Linked DNA regions of Homo sapiens: all the other regions are linked to region 3. Evidence: promoter capture Hi-C in human tissues and cell types (Jung and others, 2019). All regions are on one chromosome and are shown on one strand. Each heading gives the region's core, a stretch centred on a gene start or on the middle of the fragment in contact. The rest is flanking DNA. Distances are from core to core; before and after follow the strand shown. Region 1 overlaps PPM1E (protein phosphatase, Mg2+/Mn2+ dependent 1E). Region 2 overlaps PPM1E (protein phosphatase, Mg2+/Mn2+ dependent 1E). Region 3 holds the start of TEX14 (testis expressed 14, intercellular bridge forming factor). Region 4 overlaps SEPTIN4 (septin 4).

Region 1 (3,516 bases), core at 70-2,569, 130 kb before region 3:
CCATATTTAATCTAATCAATGCTTAATTTTGCAGATGTTTTTCTTTATTTTTTATCTTTCCTGTGGTGCAGATTAATTTTGCAGACATTTTACAATAATTTAAAAATATACAAAACACAATTTCCTAAGGGAAAAAAAATAACTGAACAACAGGTGATTCAGATAGCAGCCAGCAATGTTATTTTCAAAGAGTAACTATAGATGCATAAGATTCATTCTCCTATATTCATTACTGTCATATTTTGATATAAAACATATCTAATCATAAATAAGGTCTTTGCCTTTTCACCTAAATCTTTCAGAGAACAGCGTTATCACAATCCTGAGAAACCATTCCTGTGCCTAGAATTTCAAGTAAGTCTGTCTTTCATGCAAATACCCACATGATTCTTTTCCATTACTTTCATAGTTCCTTTCCTGCCCATTCCATTCCTTGAAAAATTTATGAGAAATGCCTACATGACAGAAATATGACCATTTCAGCCTCTCTTAAACTAGAAACAATTCTTAGGTGATAGAAATGAAAACCTCATTTTTATACGTTGTCTTTATAGTTTAAAAAGTGCTTACATACACTATAATGTCTGACTCTACAATAATGCTTCCACTTGGATAAAATAGGTATTATTTTCATTTTGAAAATTAAAAAAAAAATGCTCAGAAGGGCTTGCCCCAGGTCAAACAAGAAGAGCAATAATCATCGTATAAGTCAGCTCTCTTGACATATTTTTTTCACAATACTTTGCTGCCTCACTTACATATGACAAAGAGGAGAGAATGGCGCAACTGACTTTGGCAGGCTTCAGTTGTCACAGACCCTGAACAACAGAATCTATTACAATCTATTCTCTCTCCAACAGCAAGTACTGGCAGTACGGTAAGACCTGACTGATAGCATAACTTTAATTATCAGCCAGAGGCTTAAACCTATGCTTGTTGTAATTAGAATTTCCCCACAGAAAAAAAGCATATCATCTATTCCAGAAAAAAACTACCTATTAAATCCTCATCTTTACATCTTCAATTCATGGCCAACCAGTGTTTAAAGCATGAATTATCTTAATAAGAGAGCAAGTTTACAAATGCCTATGGGCTACACGTTTGGCAATGTTACCCCGTTCTATTTTTAGTAAACACTTAATCCTAGTATAAGACCAGAACAGATGGGCAATTGAAACTGGCTCCAATCTTCCAACATTCTTCCTACTAGCTAACAATATAGCAAACACCTAGAGGTTCTAACCATAATTATCAGCTTAACCTATAACAGAATCAGAAGTCAGCTGGTATTCCCTCTTGTTTTGGAGAAAGATACTTGGGACTCGTCAAAAAATAAATAAATAAATAAATAAATAAATAAATAAATAAATAAATAAATAAAAATAAATTCAGACTTAGCAACTTTACTTCTAAGTAAACAACCCACACTGCTGCTCATATTTTATAATGCTTGCTCCTAGTTGCATATGTACTTCATTCAATGCTATGCTTCAGTGCCTCCTTTTCTTTGGTCTCTTTTCACTTTTTTTGCTGTTGTTACTTGCTCAACTCCTTTACTACATTCTTCTTTCCATCTCTTGTTTTAGTAATCCTCATCACTCTCTGGGCTATCTTGGTCTTCTTCCTGCCAGATTCCTTCCTGAAGCTGCCAGCTCCCACTTAAAGCTTTGTGTTCATCAACAACTTATGCTTTAAAACGATATTTTGCTTTTTCCTTGATCGCCTTTCAAAATCTCATTACCTTGATATATCTCAGTTAGTTATTAGAAAAGCTAGTTGACTAAACTAGTTTATACTAAAAGCTGCATAAGCGTTGAATAATTGGTCATTTTAGACAAGATGGGGGAGAAATTTGGGAAAGGACAGTTTTCATACTTTCAGCCCACTCCCCTCCCAGCCTTTACCAAATAACAATGGAGTTCTAAAGCCCAGGAAAACCCTTTCTCCAACCCCTGGAGTCTCAAAATAAGTTTCTTCATTGTTAAAGAAGACTTCGGTTATTACTCTATTTCCATCTCTTCTACTAGTTTTCCAAGGTCCTTGCTAACCAGTATCCGCTTCTCAATCAAAGGAATTCTTTCTATTATATCGGGCAAGTTCCTGCCCTGCCGTAAGCTAACTTAAACACCCAGAGTGTGTGTATCTATACCAAAGAATGTGTCATTATTCTGATCTCTGAGTGGCGCCTATTGGAAAAGGGGCTTGAATGTAGGAATCTTCATATTGAAATGAAAAAACTTTCTTCTTTTTCTAGTAAACTCCTATCTCCTCTCCAGATAATTAGAAAAATACAAAGCTGGCCGGGCGCGGTGGCTCACGCCTGTAATCCCAGCACTTTGGGAGGCCGAGACGGGCGGATCAGAAGGTCAGGAGATCGAGACCATCCTGGCTAACACGGTGAAACCCCGTCTCTACTAAAAATACAAAAAATTAGCCAGGCGTGTTGGCGGGCGCCTGTAGTCCCAGCTACTCAGGAGGCTGAGGCAGGAGAATGGCGTGAACCCGGGAGGCAGAGCTTGCAGTGAGCCAAGATTGCACCACTGCACTCCAGCCTGGGTGACAAAGCGAGACTCCATCTCCAAAAACCAAAAACAAACAAACAAACAAACAAACAAAAATACAAAGCTAAGCTGAAGGTTTATAATATTAATTATATATAATAATAATCACTTATGTGAACAACTTATCACTTATACTTTAAACATCATACATTATAATTGGAATTAAGCCCATGATTAAATGTTTCAGATCAAGTTATGTTTTACTTTATTATAACAGAATTTGGTATCTATTTAGTCTTCATAGTTAGTTGTTCATATAGCACAGCAATCTGTTTGTCTAAAATTAGTAGGACCATTGCTACTATAATCATTAATTATGACTCACTCCCACAAGTAATTTATTTTATTTATGATATAATTTAAATACATTTATTTTAAATTGTTTGTATATCTAAATAAGATAACAGCACATGGACAATAATTTTGTTGAGCTTCTAGCACCATTTGGACCCTATAATGAAATAATAGTCATTGATGTATATTCAGTCTCTACCTTATTCATTTTAACTTATTCATATAGTCTGTCAGTGTTTTAAAGTCATTTATACACATATCTCCTATTTGTAGGTCCAATAAGCACACTCCTTTAGGACTTCAACCACGTCTTTTACAGTTGAATCTCAACTAATTTGAAACCAAAAAACCAAAAATTCATTGTACATTAATGGGTCCTGAACATGGCTTAGCACATCACATGTATTATTATTATCTTCTTTAATCCTGGCAGCAATCCTGTGAGATAGCACTATTATCAGCTGCATTTTCCTGAGGAGAAACTGGAGGTTGGAGAGGTTTCGTACCTTGCCCAAGGTCACACAAAATTAGTAAGTGGAGCCAGGATCAATTCCAGGTCTGTCTGATATAAAAATTCATGCCGTTTATCATTGTTATTGATAGGTTTGGAACTCTGTCCCCACCCAAATCTCATGTCCAATTGTAATCCCCAATGTTGGAG
Region 2 (3,441 bases), core at 22-2,521, 210 kb before region 3:
AATCAATTCCTTGCAAGACTCAATCTGCCAAGAATTAAACTATCTGAATAGGTCTAAATTGATTACAGAAATTGAATCAATAATTAATAACCTTTCAAAATACAAAGCACCAAAACCAGATAGGTTCACTGGAGAATTCTACCAAATATTTAAGGCATAAATTATACTATTTCTCTACAGTCTCTTTCAGAAGATAGAAGTCATTCTCTGAGACTACCATTACTCATTCTATTAATAAAAATTAATACACCTATTAATTAATTAGTGCACCTATTAACCCACAAAAATTAAAAATTAAAAAAGGGAAATAGGCTGGGTGCAGTGGCTAACTTAACTCATTCTATGAGACTACCATTACTTTAATGCCCAACAAAGATGTTACAAGAAAAAAAAACTACAGACCAATATCTTCAGGAACAAAGGGGCAATAATCTTCATCTAAATATTAGCAAACCAAATCCAACAATGTATAAAAAGATTTATACATTACAAAAAAGTGGGATTTATCTCAGATATGCAAAATTGATGCATCTGATGATCATTAAAAATCAATTAATGTAATCTATCATATCAAAAGGCTAAAAAAGAAAAATTACATGATCATATCAAAAGATGCAGAAAAAGCACTTGATAAAATTCAACACGCATTAATGATAAAAACTCTCAGTTAACCAGAAATAGAGGGCAACTTCTTTAACTTAATAAAGAATATCTATAAAAGACTTACAGCTAGCTTCACACTTAATGGTAAACAACTAGAAGCTTTCCTACTAAGATCAGGAACAAGGCAAGGATGTTCCCTCTCACTACTCTTTTTCAACATTGTACTTGAAGTCCTAGTTAATGCAATAAGACAAGAAAAAGAATTAAAAGGTATACTGATTAGGAAGGAAGAAATAAAACTGTAACATGTAGAAAACTAACATAACTATGTAGAAAATCTGAAAGAGTCAAAAAACCCCTAGAACCAACAAGGAATTATACAAAACTATAGGAGAAATTGTTTGTTGTTTTTTGTTGTTTGTTTGTTTGTTTTTTGAGATGGAGTTTCACTCTTGTTGCCCAGGCTGGAGTGCAATGGCACGACCTCGGCTCACCAAAACCTCCGCCTTCTGGGTTCAAGCGATTCTCCTGCCTCAGCCTCCCCAAGTAGCTGGGATTACAGGCATACACCACCACATCCGGCTGATTTTTTTTTTTTTTTTTGTATTTTTAGTAGAGATGGGGTTTCTCCATGTTGGTCACCAGCAATGAATAAGTGGGGAATGTGAAATTAAAACTACAACACCATTTACATTAGCACCCCCCAAAATGAAACATGTAGGTATAAATCTAACAAAATATGTATGAGATCTAATATAAGGAAAACTACAAAACTCTGTTGAAAGAAATCAAAGAACTAAATTAATGGAGAAATATTTCATATTCATGGATTGGGAGACTCAATATTGTCAAGATGCCAGTTATTCCCATTTGATCTATAAATTCAACACAACCCCAACCAAAATCCCAGCAAGTTATTTTGCAGATATCTTCTAGATAAGCAGATAATTTAAGACAAGGATAGTCATTCGCCTATGAGAAGAACTTTCAAATTCTTTGCAGAATCAAGTAGGTAGAAAGACAATCTTATAAATCAGATTCAAAGTGTAAAAATATCAGGCAGTATTATAAAAATTATTACCCTTGTTAGAAATCATTTCCCCAGCCTCTGATCACTTATACATTAAGAATGTACTACTATACCACTTATTCTGTGTAACTGAGCAAGATACTTAACCTCTTTCAACTCAAATTTCTTCATCTGGCAAATAAAGATGATAGTACATGCCAACCCTGCTAAGCAAAATATTATATAAGAAAGACTTCAACTTCTTTTCTTCAACTTCTATACTTTCATAGTACCTTTTTTATTTATTATGTCATAATTATAAATTTATTCACACATTTTTCACTATCTGCAAGAGGGTAGTGGACATGTATTCAACTTTCTTCTCTATCTCAGCTTTCAGAATAGTATAGATCTCAATAATAATTTCTGGCTCTTTTTGAAATTATTTCAAATTCAAGTAAAAGTAATAACACTATCAGATCTGGTTTCATTATAGATCTGCGTTACTTTGCTATTCTTTAGTGTCTATTGAAAGTCCTCCACAATTATATATTTATTTGGAAAATATTAGATTACTTTTCTAATAATTGGCAGGGGAAGAGGGGAGAACCCTAGGTAACAAAGCTTTACTCTGTTTTTTACAACAAGAAGTAAACATAATATCCAAGGTGCCCATTTTATTAGTGAGTTCTCAATTATTCACAAATACAGATTAATCTATAATTTTCTAGGCCCTCTTCCTTCTAAGAACTCAATAAAAACTGAACAACCCAGAAGCTGGGATTAGGCAGAAAAGTGGTACGTTTATGTCTGTGGGTGTGCATGTCAGTGTGGCAGGACAATATAAGATTTTAATTTTCATTTGTTCTCCACTTCTTTTTCCCTTTCCTCATTTAAACAGGTAACCAGGTCTTCAGGTTCCATTATTTACAGAAGATCTGAGTTACAGACTGGAAAGCAGAAGTTATTTGTAGATAATCTGCCTTCAAACTTTCATTTTCTGGAAGCTTGAGATAAAGGCAAAAGCTTTGAGAACTGTAAGGGAGACTGGGAAATAGCCTGCTAAACCCAGCTTGCCCAAATTGGAAAAATGTTCAGCAACACCAGGGATAGTTGTGACCTGAATCCTACTTCCTGGCTGTTCTCCAAGGAAATGGCAAGACCTCAAAGAAGAATGGCTGGATGGAGTACCTTGGGAGGCTGGACTGTAGTTACTGGGGGTTCACAATCAAGAGAGACTCTCATGTCCAAGCTTGACCAGAAAAGCAATAATGTCATCGGACTTGAAGCAGAACTTATTCAATAAGGGTATCAGTCCATGATGGTGATAACTGCAGACAAGTGGGCCCATCTCCTATTTGTTTTCTTTTTTCCTAAAAGATTCTTAGGTTTTTGCGCTACTCTTGGGTTGGAGAGGACCAAGGAAGGAAAGGAAGAAAGACATATTCTTTTCTATGTGTTCCCATAATGACTGATATGAATCTATATTTTACCAGGTTGGGCAATTCAAAGTCAGATTTAATTTAATTTATAGGAAATAAAATAATTTTATATATCTTGCCCATACAAATTTCTGATGTTATCCAACTAAACATGACAATATGGATCTATACATTTCTAATATACTTTAATAAATATTTTCCATTGTTCATTATTTATATTTTTGTGTTTCACAACCCCTATATCTGAATGATTAAAATGTCTGCATTTTGAAAGACTGTTTTTCTTTGGAAGCAAAACAATGATGGCAGTTGATTGTTACTGTCAGTAAGAAGTTCATCATCATAGAAAGTATAATACTGCAAGATAAATTTATAATTTGGATTTAG
Region 3 (3,425 bases), core at 18-2,517:
AGAGAATATTCTTTCTATGCTTCCTCAAGATTCCGGGGATTCTACTCTCTTTCTCATTCTTAGTGTCTCTAGTCCTACACAAAATCCTGCATTTCTGAAATTTAACCCTTACCCCTTGGATCTTGGAACAGCAAAAATTAGACAACCAATTCTGACTCCAGTATTTCCTAACCCAGTTAGCATGAAAAGTTACCTAAGCTCCCCAAGATATCAGTTCTCTCATCCATATACTGAATATAATAATCTACGTAAGCGGGTTGAGGGTTAAATGAGACAATCCTCAAAGCATTCAGCAGGCATTGCCAGAGGAAAAGCAATTAGTAAATGTTTTCACGACCACAGTTCTCCTAACCATTCAGACAACTTGTAAGTGGAGTCGAGGAGCTCTTTCACGCTGTAAACATGGACGTGGGAGGAAGCAGAATCTAACGGAGACTGGGCTGAAGGCCGAGGCGAGAGAACGAAGACTGAGGCGGCGCTGACGGCGGCCGGTGTGCCTCAGCTTGCCATCAGGAGTCGTTACCTTTGCTAAGCTCGGAGGGTTTCACCTCTAGGAGTTCCTCAGCAGTCTGGAACCCCGCAGACACCAGCTTCACCCGCACCGCTGGAGACAGCGGGAAACTCACCAAATCCCGCTGCATTTCAAAGCGGAACGTCTTCCCGCGCATCGCAGGCTCACCTGCTAACCCCGGAGCAGCCAAACTCCGCACGCCCTCGCTGGGGCGTGCGGCGTGACGTCAGACGTAAAGCGGAAGGGGCCGGCTCTGCGGCCTGGCCGCACGGGGCTCCGGGCCTTGCAGCTTTGCGCAGTCTTGTAAATTTTCACACTTATGCACCATTCCGTTTTGATTCCCCAAAATCCCATTTAGAGATTCCTCATCAAATGTACACCCTGACTGTAAAACGATGGACGGAGACCATAGGACGGAGAGCCAGGCCCAGTGGGTTCTCCACGCCACATTTCCTTGCCTCCACCGTGGCCTGTTAGGTGAAGCCTCAGAGTCATTAATAGGAATGATCTCGAGTGGGAGTAGTGAGCGTAACGGGCACACACTAGCCAGTTACCATTATTTTGGTGTGAAAAGCTCAGGGAACAATCATTAGAATTAATCTGCGTGCTCTTTGTAGAGTTGCAGTCTCTTGGCTCTTCCCGCTGACCGTCCCCCTTTTCTGACCCCCCCCCCCCGCAACGACCACATTGCTTTTCCCGCCCTCGCGAGGGATTGTGGGCCAGCCCCCAACGGCCGCTGGGAGGGATCAGTCCGCATTCCCCGCACCCACCCACGTCTTCCCGGGAGTCGTATCCCGAGCATGGAGGTTACTGAGACCGTTATTTCTTCATGGCCTGCCTAGCTTAAGCAGTAGCTGGAAAAGTAAGCAACTAATGTCCCCATTAGTGTGTCTGGGCTCCTGGGGTCCTGAGAAGGAGGGGCTGGGCTACACAAGAGCTCCTTTTGTGGTACAGACTTGGGAAGGGGTGTTCAAGCAGTGGTAGTGACCGCCTCTAAATTACAGAACTTCGGGGAGGAAGGCAAGCAGTTTAGAAGGTGGTTTATGAGTTCCTTCCTTGCCTAGGTGAGTGTAACTTATTTAGCAGGGGGTAACTTATTCCCTACCTATTGGCGATTTTTTTTTTTTTTTTTTTGAGACAGAGTCTCACTGTGTTGCCCATGATGGAGTGCAGTGGCACGATGTCGGCTCACTGCAACCTTCGCCTCCCGGGTTCAAGTGAGTCTCCTGCCTCAGCCTCTTGAGTACCTGGGATTACAGGCGCACGCCACCATGCCCGGCTAATTTTTGTATTATTATTAGAGAAGGGGTTTCACCATATTGGCCAGGCTGGTCTCGAACTCCTGACCTCGTGATCCGCCTGCCTCGGCCTCCCAAAATGCTGGGAGTACAGGCGTGAGCCACCGCGCCCGGCCCTGTTGGCAATGATTCTTAGTCTTGACTTTTCTTCCCAGCTTAGAAGAACTTTCTAAATATTGCAAATCAGAGCCCTCTACATACTTAGATCTAAAAAAGGAAACAACGTATGTTGAGCACTTTAGCAAATCCCACACATTTCAAATGGCCATAGCCATGCCAAAAGGAAGATAAGGACATGGAAGCTCAGCATATAGTTTAATATCAATTCTGATAAAAGAAAAAAAGCTGGCCGGGCGCAGTGGCTCGTGCCTGTAATCCCAGCACTTTGGGAGGTCGAGGCAGGTGGATCTCTTTGAGCTCATGAGTTTGAGACCAGCCTCGACAACATGGCGAAACACTGTCTGTACCAAAAGTACAAAAAATTAGCCGGGCATGGTGGCATGCACCGGTCGTCCCAGCTACTCAGAAGTCTGTGGTGGGAGGATCCCTTCAGCCTGGGAGTGAGCTATGATCACGCCACTGCACTCCAGCTTGGGTGATAGAGTGAAACCCTGTCTCAAACAAACAAAACACCTCAGCACAGTTTTCTTAAAGCCAAGATTCAAACCTAGCATCCTTTTTACTACCCCGAGCTATTAAGATTTTGAGTCCCTACTGGCGGGGAGAATACGAGAAGCATTTATACCCCATTTGGTAGGTCAAAGAAAGTCTTGTAGGACTGGCCAAAATGTGGTTGGCCACTCAACCCATTGCTTAACTTCTAATATGGTCTATATTTGAGCGCTCAGTGGATGCATAAATACTATCTTCAGGGAGATTTCATGCTTATGCTTATAAAGCACCCAGATTCTTGGGTGAAGAAAAAACATGGTATTACCACATTCAACAATAAGTCTTCAGTTAGTTTGGTCAAACTCAGTGGAATCAGTCGTGTTTAGAATTTCTTTCGTTGACAGTGGAAAGTTCAAAACTACTTTGGCCTGGCACAGTGGCTTAAGCCTGGAATCCAAGCACTTTGGGAGGCCAAAGAGGGCACATCGCTTGATCTCAGGAGTTTGAGACCAGCCTGGGCAACAGGGCAAAACCCCATCTCTACAAAAAATACAAAAATTAGCCAGCATGGTGGTACATGCCTCTAGTCCCAGCTACTTGGGAGGCTGAGGTGGGAGAACCAATTGAGCCCGGGAGGTTGAGGTTGCAGTGAGCTGAGATTGCGTAACTCCACTCCAATCTGGGCGACAGAGCGAGACTCCATCTCAAAAACAAAACAAAGCAAAATAAAAAAAACAAAAAAACCCCCACTCAACTCTATCTATAGCTGTATAATTTAAGTGCTATTAATATCTTCTGCAGATCACAAGGTCAGGAGATCGAGACCATCCTGGCTAACATGATGAAACCCCGTCTCTACTAAAAATACAAAAAATTAGCTGGGTGCGGTGGTGGGCGCCTGTAGTCCCAGCTACTCGGGAGGCTGAGGCAGGAGAATTGCATGAACCCAGGAGGCGGAGCTTGCAGTGAGCCTAGATCACGCCACCACATTCCAGCCTGGGCGA
Region 4 (3,222 bases), core at 676-3,175, 160 kb after region 3:
GTAGCATACAGCATATCCTCCTTCCCCCACTGCATCCACTTTTAGAAGGCCAGAGCTGTAAGGAAGCTTAGAAATCATCTAGTTTAATCCCCTCATTTTCAGGTATGGAAATTGAGACCCTGACAGGTGAAGTAAGTTGCTCAAGGCCACCCAGCTAGGAAGGTTTCTCCTCAACCGGCTGGCTCATGAACACCCTGCCATCTTCCAGTCCACCAGTGCCAAACAGCCAATAACATCTCCAGTAGCAGCCCCATTGTTTTTCTCAGCCTGATCTTACCTGCTGCCCCAGGCCCTCTTCCCTCCCCTGGCTGAGTTCTGACTGGTCCCAACCAGTGCTACTGGTTCACAGGTCAGACTGAAATACAGCAGGCAGGCCTCTGGCACTTCTACCAACAGAGAGGGCCGTGCCTGTGGGTCTCAGTTTTGTCCAGAGTGTATTCAGGCAGAAGCCAGTCAGCCTGCCATTGAGAGAGGGGTCTTGCGGGTCAGGAAGGGACATGCTTCTGGAAACTTCCACAGGAGCCTGACCAGCTCAGACCCTACTTAGCTCAGGGAATCCCTCACCAACACCCCACTCACCAAGCATCTGCCTTCCCCTAGCTGCTGCTCTGACCTTTCTGAGCCTCTAATGCCTCTAAAGCTTCTGGGGCATCTGTCCCCTCGGCATCTCACCTGCTTGTCAGAGGAAGAGTGGCCCAGCTGGGCCTGGGTCACGCCTGGGTTGGCCTCTCCTGAGGCCCTCCCCACTGTCCTCAGCCACAGGCAAGGCTACACCGCCCTGTTAAAGCCACTCAGCCTCTCCCTTCTATCCTTCCAGCAGATGATCCCTGGATAATTTGTGCAGCAAATCCTCTTTAATCTGTAATCTGGGGTACTGCATGAAGGGAACCTGCCTCTAACCTGCCCCTTCACAGCTCGGGTGGAGGTGGAGAATATCTGACATTCCCCTTTAGGAGGTGTAGTGATCAGTAACTTGGGCATCAGCCGGATTCACTTTGTGAAAACCTTGTTGAATCCCTGCGGTAACTAATGGTTTCTCTCCAACTCATGCAGCAACTCCCCCTCCCTTCCAAAGGCGTCTCCTTCTGGGGATGTCAGGTGGGCCGTTCCTTTTTCTTTGGGAACTGGCTCAAGCCCCCGCGGTGCTTCTGGAGCTGAGTAAAAAAGAGCCAGGTGTCCAGTGCAGCCCGGGGACGAGGAGCTGAGGCTCCCCGCTCTGTCCTGGGTGACTCTGCATACTCTGCGCATCCGGGGGTCGCGGGCTGCGAGGCCGGCCCCCAGCTGGGCACCCCGACCCACTTCGCGCCGGCACCGCTAGCAGCTGAGGTACAGGCCCCGCCCCGGGGCCGACTCGCTCCGCCCCCGCCGCCGGGCCCCTCCCGCAGCGGTCCGCACTCGGGGAGGCGGGAGGGTGACGGCGGTGCTGCGAGGTCGGCGCGCAGCTCCGCCGCGGGTCGCTCGGGCGCTGTCCAGGCGGAGCCGGCCCCGCCCGGGCTGCAGCCATGGTAAGGCAGGCAGGCAGGCGGGCGGGCGCGGGGCAGGGCTGGGGTGCGCAGGGCCGGTCGCTCCCGGGCGGCTGCAAGGGGACCCGCGGCACCGCAGCCGCGGCTGTGCAGGGTGGGAGGCGCCGTCGCCGGCCCCGGGCACAGGCTGGCACTGCTGCCGGGCGGCGGTGCGTCGCTGCTCCCAAGTTTTTCCCTCTGAGCAGCCACGGAGTGGGCGCCAACCCCTGGGTGATGCCTGCGCTCTAGGACGAAGGGGTGGGTCCGTGCTGAGGGAGGTGCCCGCTGGTGGAGACGCGCTTGTTGGGCTGGGGAAGGCGCATCAGTAATAAGCGGAGGTGAGGGTCCCCATCCTCGCCTGGGTCAGCTTTTACCTGAGTAACCCCTCCTCACCCACCTACCCTGGGCACAGGGGCCAGTACCAACTTCATTTGGAAAACGCAGAGGAGGCCCACAAACACTGCCTGCCTCACCAGGAGGGATGGTAAGACGCTTGGCCCCTCCTTCCCTCAGCCTGACAAGGGGCAGTCCCTGGCCCTTTCCCAAAGGGACCCCAGAGAGGGGGAGGCCCAGCCCACCATCCTGCCCGGTGGGATTAGCTATATCCTTCTGCCCCTGGGACAGGAACCATGGGAAAGCTTCCTCCTGCTGCATCTACCCGCTCCCTCCCCACCAGCCAGGTCCCTCTGCAGTGTGTGGGGGTGGGGGCACCCATCCCTGCCACCTGCCTGTAGTGGGAAGAGAAACAGTAACCCCAGCCAGCCTCCCTGGAGGTGCCCAGGTAGGAAGTTTTTGATGCTTGGCTCTGAAGATGTAATCTCTTCTCCTGACATTGTTGCCAGAGCCTGCCACAAATAACGTAAGGGTGTCAGGACCTCTAGGCCACACACCGTCCTCTCCTCTCAGTCTGGAAGCCCCACAGCCTTTGCCCTCTGCATTGGGGGACACAAACTGTTTACAGCAGGGGGGGATCACTGACCAGCCTGTGGGGCGGGATGTTGGCTGTGGGCAGCCTCCAGAAGGGAGCTCCCTGGGCCCCCTGGGATCAGAAGCTTTCAGGTTTGGTAGGGCCAACCTTTTGGGCTCTTGTCTCTCAAGCTGTGTCCAGGCAGAGGCCCAAGCCTTGGCCAGGAAGTCTTGGTGACCCTGTGACCTTCCCCCAACGGGGGTTCCTGAGAGAGGCCTGTCCTTATTCCTTTCCCCCACTTCTCCCCACATGGTGGATGGATGGACTGATTGTTCTAGGGATGGAAGCCTAGGGAAGCACTGATTGTCCCCAGTGCCAAGCCCAGCAGGGGCTAGAGGGGCTTTTTCTGCCACACACTAACTTCAGTTCAGCTGAGGTCTTGGTGCTTTCGGCTTGTCCGAGGCCACACTGTTCTTCTCTAATTAAAGACACACCCCCCTCCACCCCAACCACCATCACCAAAGTCCCCATCCTCAGGCCCCTGCCCTCAAGCCAGCCAAGTTCTTAGGCTGACTGGTTCAGATCAGACTCCTCTATGAGGGTCTCTTTGTCAAAGGAGGTCAGTGTCCTAGCTGCTTTGGGAATCAGTGGGGGAGACCCCCCCAACCCAGCTATGCCAGGGGGTTTAAATTTACATGTGAAAAGAATGACAGGCCAACATTAATGACCATCCTGTGACTTGGGATGCACCTTCTCTTCTCAGGTTCAAAGCAGCTTAAGGTATCTATCATCTGGGAGTGCTTTCTCTCCCCA

Evidence for each region. Contacts are between HindIII fragments. The study calls those that stand out against the background at their distance.
Region 1: a fragment that was not itself captured here is called in contact with the fragment with the promoter of TEX14 in region 3 in 1 of the 25 tissues and cell types used here (psoas muscle).
Region 2: a fragment that was not itself captured here is called in contact with the fragment with the promoter of TEX14 in region 3 in 2 of the 25 tissues and cell types used here (hippocampus and spleen).
Region 4: a contact is called between a fragment that was not itself captured here and the fragment with the promoter of TEX14 in region 3, in 10 of the 25 tissues and cell types used here (H1 embryonic stem cells, IMR-90 fibroblasts, aorta and 7 more).

What each region holds. Positions count from the first base shown.
Region 1 is chr17:58,820,192-58,823,707 of GRCh38, reverse strand. The region is part of intron 1 of PPM1E (protein phosphatase, Mg2+/Mn2+ dependent 1E); the gene reads right to left. Among named protein-coding and RNA genes, the nearest start is that of PPM1E, 66 kb to the right of the region's middle. The HindIII fragment of the contact is 4,168 bases long and covers 1-3,403 here.
Region 2 is chr17:58,902,622-58,906,062 of GRCh38, reverse strand. The region is part of intron 1 of PPM1E (protein phosphatase, Mg2+/Mn2+ dependent 1E); the gene reads right to left. Among named protein-coding and RNA genes, the nearest start is that of PPM1E, 150 kb to the right of the region's middle. The HindIII fragment of the contact is 5,961 bases long and covers 1-3,441 here.
Region 3 is chr17:58,689,887-58,693,311 of GRCh38, reverse strand. TEX14 (testis expressed 14, intercellular bridge forming factor) reads left to right here and starts at 1,267. Exons shown (of 32, transcript NM_031272.5): 1 at 1,267-1,373. IGBP1C (IGBP1 family member C) reads left to right here and starts at 1,267. Exons shown (of 2, transcript NM_001395966.1): 1 at 1,267-1,373. It overlaps RAD51C (RAD51 paralog C), which reads right to left and starts at 710. Exons shown (of 9, transcript NM_058216.3): 1 at 524-710. The coding sequence starts at 668. RefSeq lists enhancers at 353-522, 853-952. The HindIII fragment of the contact is 12,262 bases long and covers 1-3,425 here.
Region 4 is chr17:58,530,244-58,533,465 of GRCh38, reverse strand. The region is part of intron 3 of SEPTIN4 (septin 4); the gene reads left to right. The region is part of intron 2 of SEPTIN4-AS1 (SEPTIN4 antisense RNA 1); the gene reads right to left. Among named protein-coding and RNA genes, the nearest start is that of SEPTIN4-AS1, 12 kb to the right of the region's middle. RefSeq lists a silencer at 1,205-1,654 and an enhancer at 1,752-2,252. The HindIII fragment of the contact is 6,319 bases long and covers 1-3,222 here.